Regions from separate parts of the Homo sapiens genome. Here region 1 is linked to region 2. The links are contacts of gene promoters, found by promoter capture Hi-C in human tissues and cell types (Jung and others, 2019). All regions are on one chromosome and are shown on one strand. The core of a region is centred on a gene start or on the middle of the fragment in contact, and the rest is flanking DNA. Distances in the headings are between cores, read along the strand shown.

Region 1 (4,696 bases), core at 828-3,327, 82 kb after region 2:
AAAAATCTAGGAAATACCCTTTTGGACATTGGCCTTGGCAAAGAATTTATGACTAAGTCCTCAAAAACAATTGCAACAAAAACAAATATTGACAAGTAGGACTTAATTAAACTAAAGAGCTTCTGCACAACAAAAGAAACTATCAACAGAGTAAACAGACAACCTGCAGAAAGGGAAAAAATATTCGCAAGGTATGCACCTGACAAAGGTCTATAAGGAACTTAAACAAATCAACAAGTGAAAAACAACTTCATTATACAGTGGGTAAAGGACATGAACAGACACTTTTCAAAAGAAGACATACGAGTGGCCAAGAAACATATAAAAAATGGTCCACATCACTAATCGTCAGAGAAATATAAATAAGAACCACTATGAAATACCATCTCACATCAGTCAGAATGGCTATTACTAAAAAGTAAAAAAACAACAGATGTTGGCGAGGTTGCGGAGAATAGGCAATGCTTTTGCACTGTTGGTGGGAGTGTAAATTAGTTCAGGCACTGTGGAAAGCTGTTAGGAGATTTCTCAAATAACTAAAAATAGAGCTATCATTCAACTTAGCAATATCATTACTGGGGATATACCCAAAGGAAAATAAATATTCTACCAAAAGGACACTTGTACTCGTATGTTCATCACAGCACTATTCACAATAGGAAAGGCATGGAATCAACTTAGGTGCTCATCAGCAGTGGATTGGATAAATAATATGTGGTACATATGTACCATGGAATACTATACAGCCATAAAAAATAATGAGATTATGTCCTTTGCAGCAACATGGATGCAGCTGGATGCCATAATCCTAAGAGAATTAATACAGAATCAGAAAACCAAATACTGCGTGTTCTCACTTATAAGCGGGAGCTAAACATTGAGTATACATGGCATAAAGATGGGAACACTAGATGCTGGGGACTACAAGAGAGGGATGGAAGGAGAGGGGCAAGGGTTGAAAAACTACCTATTGGGTACTATACTCACTACCTGGATGATGAGTTCAATTGTACCCCAAACCTCAGCATCATGCAATATACCCTTGCAACAAACCTGCACATGTACCCTCTGAATCTGAAATAAAAGTTGAAATAAAAAAATAGAACTTCTTTTTGTTCCTCAAAGATGGACTGAGCTACACCAGTACAATAGTAGTGAGTTCCTAGACACAGGGATATCCTAGTCTTAGCATCATCTCAAGGACAGAAATAGACATTCTGGTGCCGTCATGGTTTCCTCTGTGTCCATGGACATGGCTTCAAATGTTTTACAAAACAAAGGAAATGTTGGTTTATAAGCATTCATCATGGGCATAGTCACCAACATTTCCTTTGGGTACCGTTGTCCTAGATTGGGAATGGTAAACACATTTCATCCCATGTGCCCGTTCGTATGTGTTTGTGGTGGCTGTCTAAAGGGCTAGTTGAGTAGTAGTATCTTGCTCTCTCTGGGCTCAGCAGAGAAGCACATTGTGAGCTTATTGGCTATTTGTGTAACTTTTTTGGAGAAAATATATACAGTATTCAAGGTTTTTTAAATTTTCTTGATGATGTTCTTTGAAGCACAACATTTTTAAATTTTGTTAATGTCCAATTTATATGTCTTTTTCTTTGATTGCTTTTGGTGTCATATCTAAGAAACCATTGCCTAATCCAAGGTCATGGATTTATACATGCATTCTCTTTTAAAGTTTAGTAGTCTTAGTGCTTACATTTAGATATTTGATCCATTTGAGCTATTTTTTTATATGGTGTGTGATAGGGTTCTGAATTCATATTTTGCATGTGGATATATTCTGTTATCTAGCACTATTTGGCAAAAAGCCTATTATTTCCCCCATTGAATTTTCTTAGCACCCTTGTTGAGAATCAGTTGACCATAAATATGAGAGTTTGTTTCTGGACCCTCCATTTTATTCCATTGATCTATATGTCAGATATGGACGACTTTTAAGTTTTCTCCCAAATTCTTGGATTCTTGAATTTTCTACATAGATTCCTAGTAGATCACATTATGTCTACAAGGTAGAATCTACCAACACCTTGATAAAGTTTGTGATAGGCAAATTGATGCTTACTTGATAAAACTTTGGAATGCTTCTGCCTGCAACTAACTGAGCTCTTGACTAAAATAGGCTTAAGAAATATGGAAGCTTAATTGTTCCTTGTCACAGAAAATCTAGAGACTGGTGGTTCCATACCCCATTCCCATTGGTTTGGAGTTGGTTTATTTAACAGCTCAGGGCTCCAGTCAGTATCTCTGCAATTCTTGTGACCCTTTCCTCATGTTGCAAGATCATTGCCACAGGTTCAAGCATCAAGGCCTCACATAATAGCACCCAAGGTAGGAACAGTGGGGGATTATTCTTACAGATTTCTCTCTTCTATTAAGAAGAAAACTCTTCCAGTGGGCTAGTGTCCCACCTCATGTGGCCAGGATTGAGTGACATAGTTACCCGTAACCACGGAAATGTTGGAAAAGTGCCCACTCTTAACTCTTAGAAATTAGACAAGGAGGGGAAGGGAGAGAATGGATGGAAAAGACAACTACTCTCTACTCCCTAGCTTGGTGGAGTTGAAGGGGTGGATGTCTATGTTGGGTGCCAGGGATAGGTGAGATTCTACAGGGTTAAGAGCTGGAGCCAGTGGCTTTGCCCTGAGCCAATAATCTGAGTCAACATTTGAGATGGAAAGGGCTAGAGATGTACGGGAAAGACGTTCTAAGCCACAAATCATGCAAGAAAACTTAGAAAGAACACCAAATCTTTCAGCCCAGAGGCAGGGGGTGAACTGATGGAACATAATCAAGAGATCCAAGCATGACAGCCAAGAGTAAAAACCAGTGAAGCTCAACTGGAGCAATTCCTTAGCACCCCAACTGCCACAGAGGCTGGTTTTCATGAGCTGGCAGGCCCAGGGCATATGTAGATGGCCTTGGGTTAAAGACCCAGGATTTAGGCACATCATTTGTGCTTGGTATTGTGTCAGACAACAAAACGATATCTGGGGCTGTCTCCTGCCTTCAAGGACTTTCAATCTTATCATTTATCCAGAGAACATGACTGACACCTGTGAAACAGAGAAAACATTCCTGTGTTAGACTGGTTCTCAGTGCAACATTGAGTTCATGCCCTGCCTCAATGTTCTAGGTCAGGGCAAGCTAAACTCCTGTAGAAGTGACTCTTAGCACCAGGGATAATGCCCATGATCATCATAATCATATTCACCATATTCATCATGGGCATAGTCACTGACATTTATTGAATACTTACTACATGGTAGACACAATTCTAATTTTTTTCCTGTGTTTATTAAAGCTTCCAACAACTCAATGGAGCACATACTTTTATTTTCATCCCTGTTTTATATATGAGAAAACAGTTACTGAGAGGTTAATTAGCTTTCTCAAGGTCTTGTACAGCAAGGAAATGGTGGGTCAGGCATTAAAACTCAAGCATTTGGATGCCAAAGCTAAGGGCATCACAGCACTGCTTCCCACCTATCAACACTTTGCTGCGGAGGAGATTCCTGTATCTGCCTGAAAAGGTGGGGTGTACTGATGTTGGAGAGGTGTGCTGATCCTGTGCTGGGTGGTCCTGCCCTCTCCGTGCCTCAGTTTTTACATGTATGAAATGAGATGGTCCCCTGACATTCTCTAGTCCCTGAGGCCCAGAGGTCCGTGGACAGTACTCTGGAAAGCAGGGCAGCCATGGCTGATGCTTGGTAGAAGTTTCAACTCTCTCTGGCCCTTAAATCTTAGCTTCACTGAATCCTCACAGACAGAGCTACAATGAAGATCCAATAAAAACTCTGAAACATCTCAAACACTGTTGACAGGAGCAAAGAGGATTCCCTGTGGGAGGATCAGGCGAGGGGGAAAGAGGTGAAGGATTTGGAAACAATGTGTCTCTCATGATTCCTCTTCCTCAGGAAGAGACAGGGAGTGTGAGCAGGTCAGTTCATTATAACTATTTACTGCATTGATTTCCGTTGCTTTGATGAGGAAGACTTCCAACAGGAGATGCAAATTGCCTTGGGACCTGCAAACCCTGCTAGCTCAGCCCTGGCATTCTCAGACCTGAGCAACCAGTGTGCTGACTACTCCCCCCATGAATAAATGTTTCTGAGTTTTAGTGTGAACAGGGAGAAGAGCCCAGGGCCATGGGGTGATGCAATTTGGCCATGTGATGTTGGCCTTGGAAATCTTCACTGGTGAAGATATCATCTTCCCAGTCTGTGGTCCCAAAAGCCTGCCTCCAGCAACTTGCTTCTGTGGGTCAGATGGCTGGCTCCACCACTGAGCTTGAGGAAGTTACTTAACTTCTGTAGCCTCAGTTTCTTCATCTGTGAAATGGGGAAAACAGCAGTACTTATCTCCTAGAATTGCTATGAAGGGTAAATGAGTTACTCAGTGTAAAGCACCTAGAAGAGTGACTGGTTCATGGTAAAGTGCTATAGAAATGTTAGTTCTCTGATGTTTCCTGGCCAGACTGGAAGCTTCCTAAGGTCAGGGATCTTGACTACCAAGTATAACATCACGCCCACAGGGCCTAGATCTGTAATAGAGCCTCAACTTATATTTGCCATATGACTGTTGAATGAATGAGAGTGCTTTGCAAACTGGTAAATACAAATAGGATTCTGGCAGTATTACTATTTATTATAAGTTGTTGTTGCCCTGTTTTCCTTGGGATTCT
Region 2 (4,342 bases), core at 1,689-4,188:
CCATCTCCAAAAAAGAAAAAGGAAATTGATGTATGATACATATGATGCCTTCTCCAGGCCTCAAATTGTATCCTTCAGAGCTCCGTCTTAAGCATTACCAAACCTGATCCCTTTCCCACTGCTCTTCCTCTCACTTTCAGAGGTTTCTGGTTTTCAATGGTGTGCTGATAAGTGTAACACTCATCTCTCTGATAGAAGGAAGAATCCCCAATTTCTAAAGTTTGCTGATTTCCATAAGGTAAGTACTCCCATTACAGAGATTTCAAGCTCCCGAGGTGATATCACTGGATGCAGAGTAGGGAAGAGACTTGTGAACCAACAGGAACTGGCTTCAGCACGCTACGGCAGGCTTAGGCCCTTTTCCAGAACATTCTACCATGTTATTTTGTTAATGTGCTCAGTTCCGCTTTCTATCCTGAATGCCCTATTCAACCAGAATCGCTATGAGCTGGGCATCTCTCCTTCCTACCAGCTACCCTCCTCATGTCGGACTGTTTCCGGAAAAGCTACCTGCTCTTCTGCTAGTTTTTGGCCCAAATATAAGGAGCACTAAAGATCTTCCCTATAGGAGACCAGGCTAGAAAAGCTGCTTTGCTGACCCCCTTGACTCCAGGAGGGAGTCCTGGGGGGAATGCATCTCAAGAGGGAAGGAGAGGAAAGCTATTCCCTCACCCTCTCCCTGCACAGACCCAGCTGCACCTCTGGGCTATTTTAAGCCATCTGTTTACCCAGAGGGGCCCAGGAGACAGCTCTCTACAGCTGTTACTTGTGGCCAGGAAACACTCAGCGCTCTGCTCCCACCTGAACTGTTCACAGAATGCTCAGAACGTTGCCCCTTCTGTGCCCCTTTTTCTGAGCCTTGGGTCCTCACTACCTCCCAGATAGAGATAACGTGGAGCTCTGGGAAACCTGGGATCCAGAATGAATAAGAAACCAGTAGAAAGGATACTTTGCTGGGAGTAAGAAGATGTGCCACCTACCAGTTCTGTGGTTTTGGACATACCATTCAATCTCTCTGAGTCTCAGTTTCCCCCTCTGTAAAGTGGCAATAATATATCTCCCTCTCCTACCTTTGTGCTGAGTGTTGAATGGTCTCATGTTCATGAAACTATGTTGTGATTATAAAGCCCTGGACAAATGTAAGTTATATCAGTGGACTTAACCCTTCAGGATCCATTGCTCTGGGACCCCCAAAGCATGTTCAGCTGAACAAACATAGTCTAATTCTGTTCTTGACCTACCCTCCCTCTGTGTTGGAAAGCCACACAAGAGTGTAGTGTGCACACGCGTGTGTGTATGACTAAGGATAGCGTATACCAGCATGCTTAGGTGTTAGAAAAAGGCTCTCCTTCCATAAGAAAGCCACTGGAATTGAGGACTCTCCTGGCCAGGCTGCCTTAGGCTTTCCCTGTGTCTATATTAATCTGTGCCCAGCTGCTCCCTTAATCCTAGGATGAGGGTGAGATTAGTTGGGTGGGCATGGGCAAATGGAAATTCAGGGGCTACTCTTGCCTCAGGAAATAGGATGCATTTTCCCTTAGGTTCTCTTGAAAATCAGAAAACATCTGAGCTGGAAGGGACCTTACTACTATAGATCTTCATGTTATAAGTGCTAAAACTGTGGCTGACTGGAAAATCACTTGTCAAGCTTGAAATATCAAGTCCAAATTGCCACTCAGGGCTTCCTTTCCCCCTTGAAAGCATCATGCCTCCTTTCTTCCTGAAACTTCTCTTAGTCTCGCACCCACTCTGCCTGTGGTCATTCCTGGAGACCCCATGAAGGGAACGTTTGGTTCAAGGAGGAAATATGGCCTCATAGATTCTCTTTTTATTCTTTGCTCAGGATTTAGAAGGGTCTTCCACTACAGGAATAGAAAGGGAAGAGGAAGAAGACTACTTAGTTTTATTCCTGGAGATGGCATAATCTGGATAAGACAGAGGTACCCTGCACACAGCCCCCTCCTTGCAGTCTGTAGACCCTTTTCTTTGGGTCCCAGTTCCTCCAGGCAATGCCTGAGCATGTTGGAACAGCTCCTGTGTCCATAAGCTCCTGGGCTGCGTTATCTGCATGTAATTTCTCTGTTTCTCTGTGGGACAGCCCCTGAGGAGACTCAAAAGATTTAATAAGAAAAAAGCTGCTTCTGAGTCTTGGGAAAGGATGGATCTATCTTTCCTGTCTTGGGAGCATCTACTCCAGGAAGAAGCTCTAAAGAAAGGGCTAGAGGCCTATGGCTAGCGGAGAGACCCACTCAGGAACAGAGAAGTTGAGGGGAAGGGTTGCTTTGAACGGAGCCACATATAGATGTGCCAGTCTCATCCTCTGTCCTCGCCAAACTCCCTGGGACTAAGCTTCTACCCAGAGAGGCAGGTGGCCATCCCAATACCAGGAGGCCTGAAGGGTGGTTTTATTCTCTGGGCTTTTGCCTCCAAGGAGCTCCTCCTACCTCTCCCTGATTAGAGAGCCCAAGGTGTCACCCTGAGAAGCCAAGAGAATTTGCTGCTGGGTCCCCTACCACCCCTGCCGGGCCCACTGGTGCACTCTCACTGCTGCAGGGTTGTAGCTGTCCCTGACGCCTAATATAACCATCCTGAATTTCCACAGCCTAACCCAAGGCTGCACTCTTCTAGGGAGCAGAACCCTGACCCACATCTGAGGCTTACCCTGTGACAATCTCAAAGGGCGGCAGCTCAATCAGCTCTTTCAGCTTCTCAGGGTCGTCCAGGTTCTCCAGATCCTCCCCATTCTGGGAGGCAGCCTCAGTGGCCACAGCAGCCTCTTCCTTCTGGGCCATGGAGGGGCTGTGGCTCAGGAGTCACTGAGGGAGAGGAGAGAGGCAGGCAGGTCTGGGCCAGGCCCTGGCGGCAGAGTCCCAAGCAGCTGTCAGCAGCTAAATCTGGCTGGGGATGACGGGAAAAGGACCCAGCAGGCCAGGCTTCGTGCTTTCCCCACTTAGCCACAGGCTTTATAGCCAAGGCCTCCTGCCCCTCCCCCAGGCTCTCTCCCTCTATCTTTTTTTAATTGAGTGACAGCGGGTGCTGGGGTGGGGGAATGGAAAATCTGGCCATTAGTATCCCCTATTTATCAGTAGGCAAAGACAGGAACCTGGCAGGTGGGTATGGCTTGGCCTGCTCTCTTCTCCCTCTCCCTCTCAGCTCACCTTATGTTCTCCCCTTTGTTTCCCACCCAAATTCCCTAGCTCCACTGGGGGAGAGTGTGGAAGGGGCCCCAGGGCAGGCATCCTGAGATTTAGGAGGGTGGCCTTCTGAGATTTAAACAGGAGGAGATGTGTGTTGAAAGGGGCTGACTGCAAAAAGACCCAGGCCATTTGCTTTGGGGGAACGTGGGTTCAGGAAAGGAGGGGTCCTGGCAGAGGTGGGATCAAAACTGACAATTTGGGGAGTAAGTGTGTGAGTTATGACTCAAAAGCGGTGGGTGCTGATTTGCCTGTTACAAAGCCATAATGTAATGTCAAATCGATCAGGAGCCTCCCTGAGTAACAATAGCTGCCATTTACTTAGCTCAGAGATTTTGAAACAGGCCAGGCAGTGGGTTTAGGGGTTTAAATGAAATCAGATGCATGCTTGCCACAGCCATGGGAGGCGATGTGTATTATCCCAAGTTACAGGTAAACTGAGTCACAGAAGTGTGCAGAGCCGGGATTAAAATGCAGGCTTTTGTACTTCAGGCCAAATATTCAACCTCCATGCTATGTGCCCTCACAGTCAGTCTTTTATTCTTCTTAACAAATATTTATTGAGTATCTACTCTATGCCAGGTGCTGTTTCAGGTACTGGGAATATGGCAAAAGAACAAAGCAAATGAAAATCCCTGCTGTGATGATTTGTGGAGCTTGAGGAACTGAACAACAAATAAGGTAAGTAAAATACATGGTCTATTTTGTGATGACAAGTGCCAAGGAGAAAAGACAGGAAATGGAAACAGGAAGTGCTAAGAGGTGGGGTTACGTACTTATAGGATGGCCAGGGTGAAGGACTTTGAAAAGGAGACAATTGAAGAAGACGTGAAGAAGGCAAGGGAACTAATCATTTGGTTGTCTAAGAGGAAAGCGTTCCAAGGAAGGGAACAACGTGAGCAAAGGCTCTGAGAAGGGAGCATTCCTGGGGTGTTTGAGGAACTAGCGAGGACATACATCTGGGTGACTGAAGAGTTCTAAGAGATTAAGCCAGAGAGATAACAAGGGTAAAAGGGACTGGGGCCTTATGGGCTGTCATAAGTACCTTGCTTTTTCTCAGACTGAGGTGGGAAGCCATTGTCTCTGAACAGGTGAGACAGGTGGTCTGAGCACTTGGGAAGAGCAGAGGCAGGGGACCAGTGAGAAGC

The links. Contacts are between HindIII fragments. The study calls those that stand out against the background at their distance.
Region 1: a contact is called between a fragment that was not itself captured here and the fragment with the promoter of APOBEC2 in region 2, in 4 of the 25 tissues and cell types used here (bladder, heart right ventricle, mesenchymal stem cells and 1 more).

What each region holds. Positions count from the first base shown.
Region 1 is chr6:40,968,457-40,973,152 of GRCh38, reverse strand. All of the region lies in intron 1 of LOC101929555 (a long non-coding RNA gene), which reads left to right. Among named protein-coding and RNA genes, the nearest start is that of UNC5CL, 68 kb to the left of the region's middle. The HindIII fragment of the contact is 6,341 bases long and covers 1-4,696 here.
Region 2 is chr6:41,051,798-41,056,139 of GRCh38, reverse strand. APOBEC2 (apolipoprotein B mRNA editing enzyme catalytic subunit 2) reads right to left here and starts at 2,938. Exons shown (of 3, transcript NM_006789.4): 1 at 2,662-2,938. The coding sequence starts at 2,792. The HindIII fragment of the contact is 7,265 bases long and covers 2,000-4,342 here.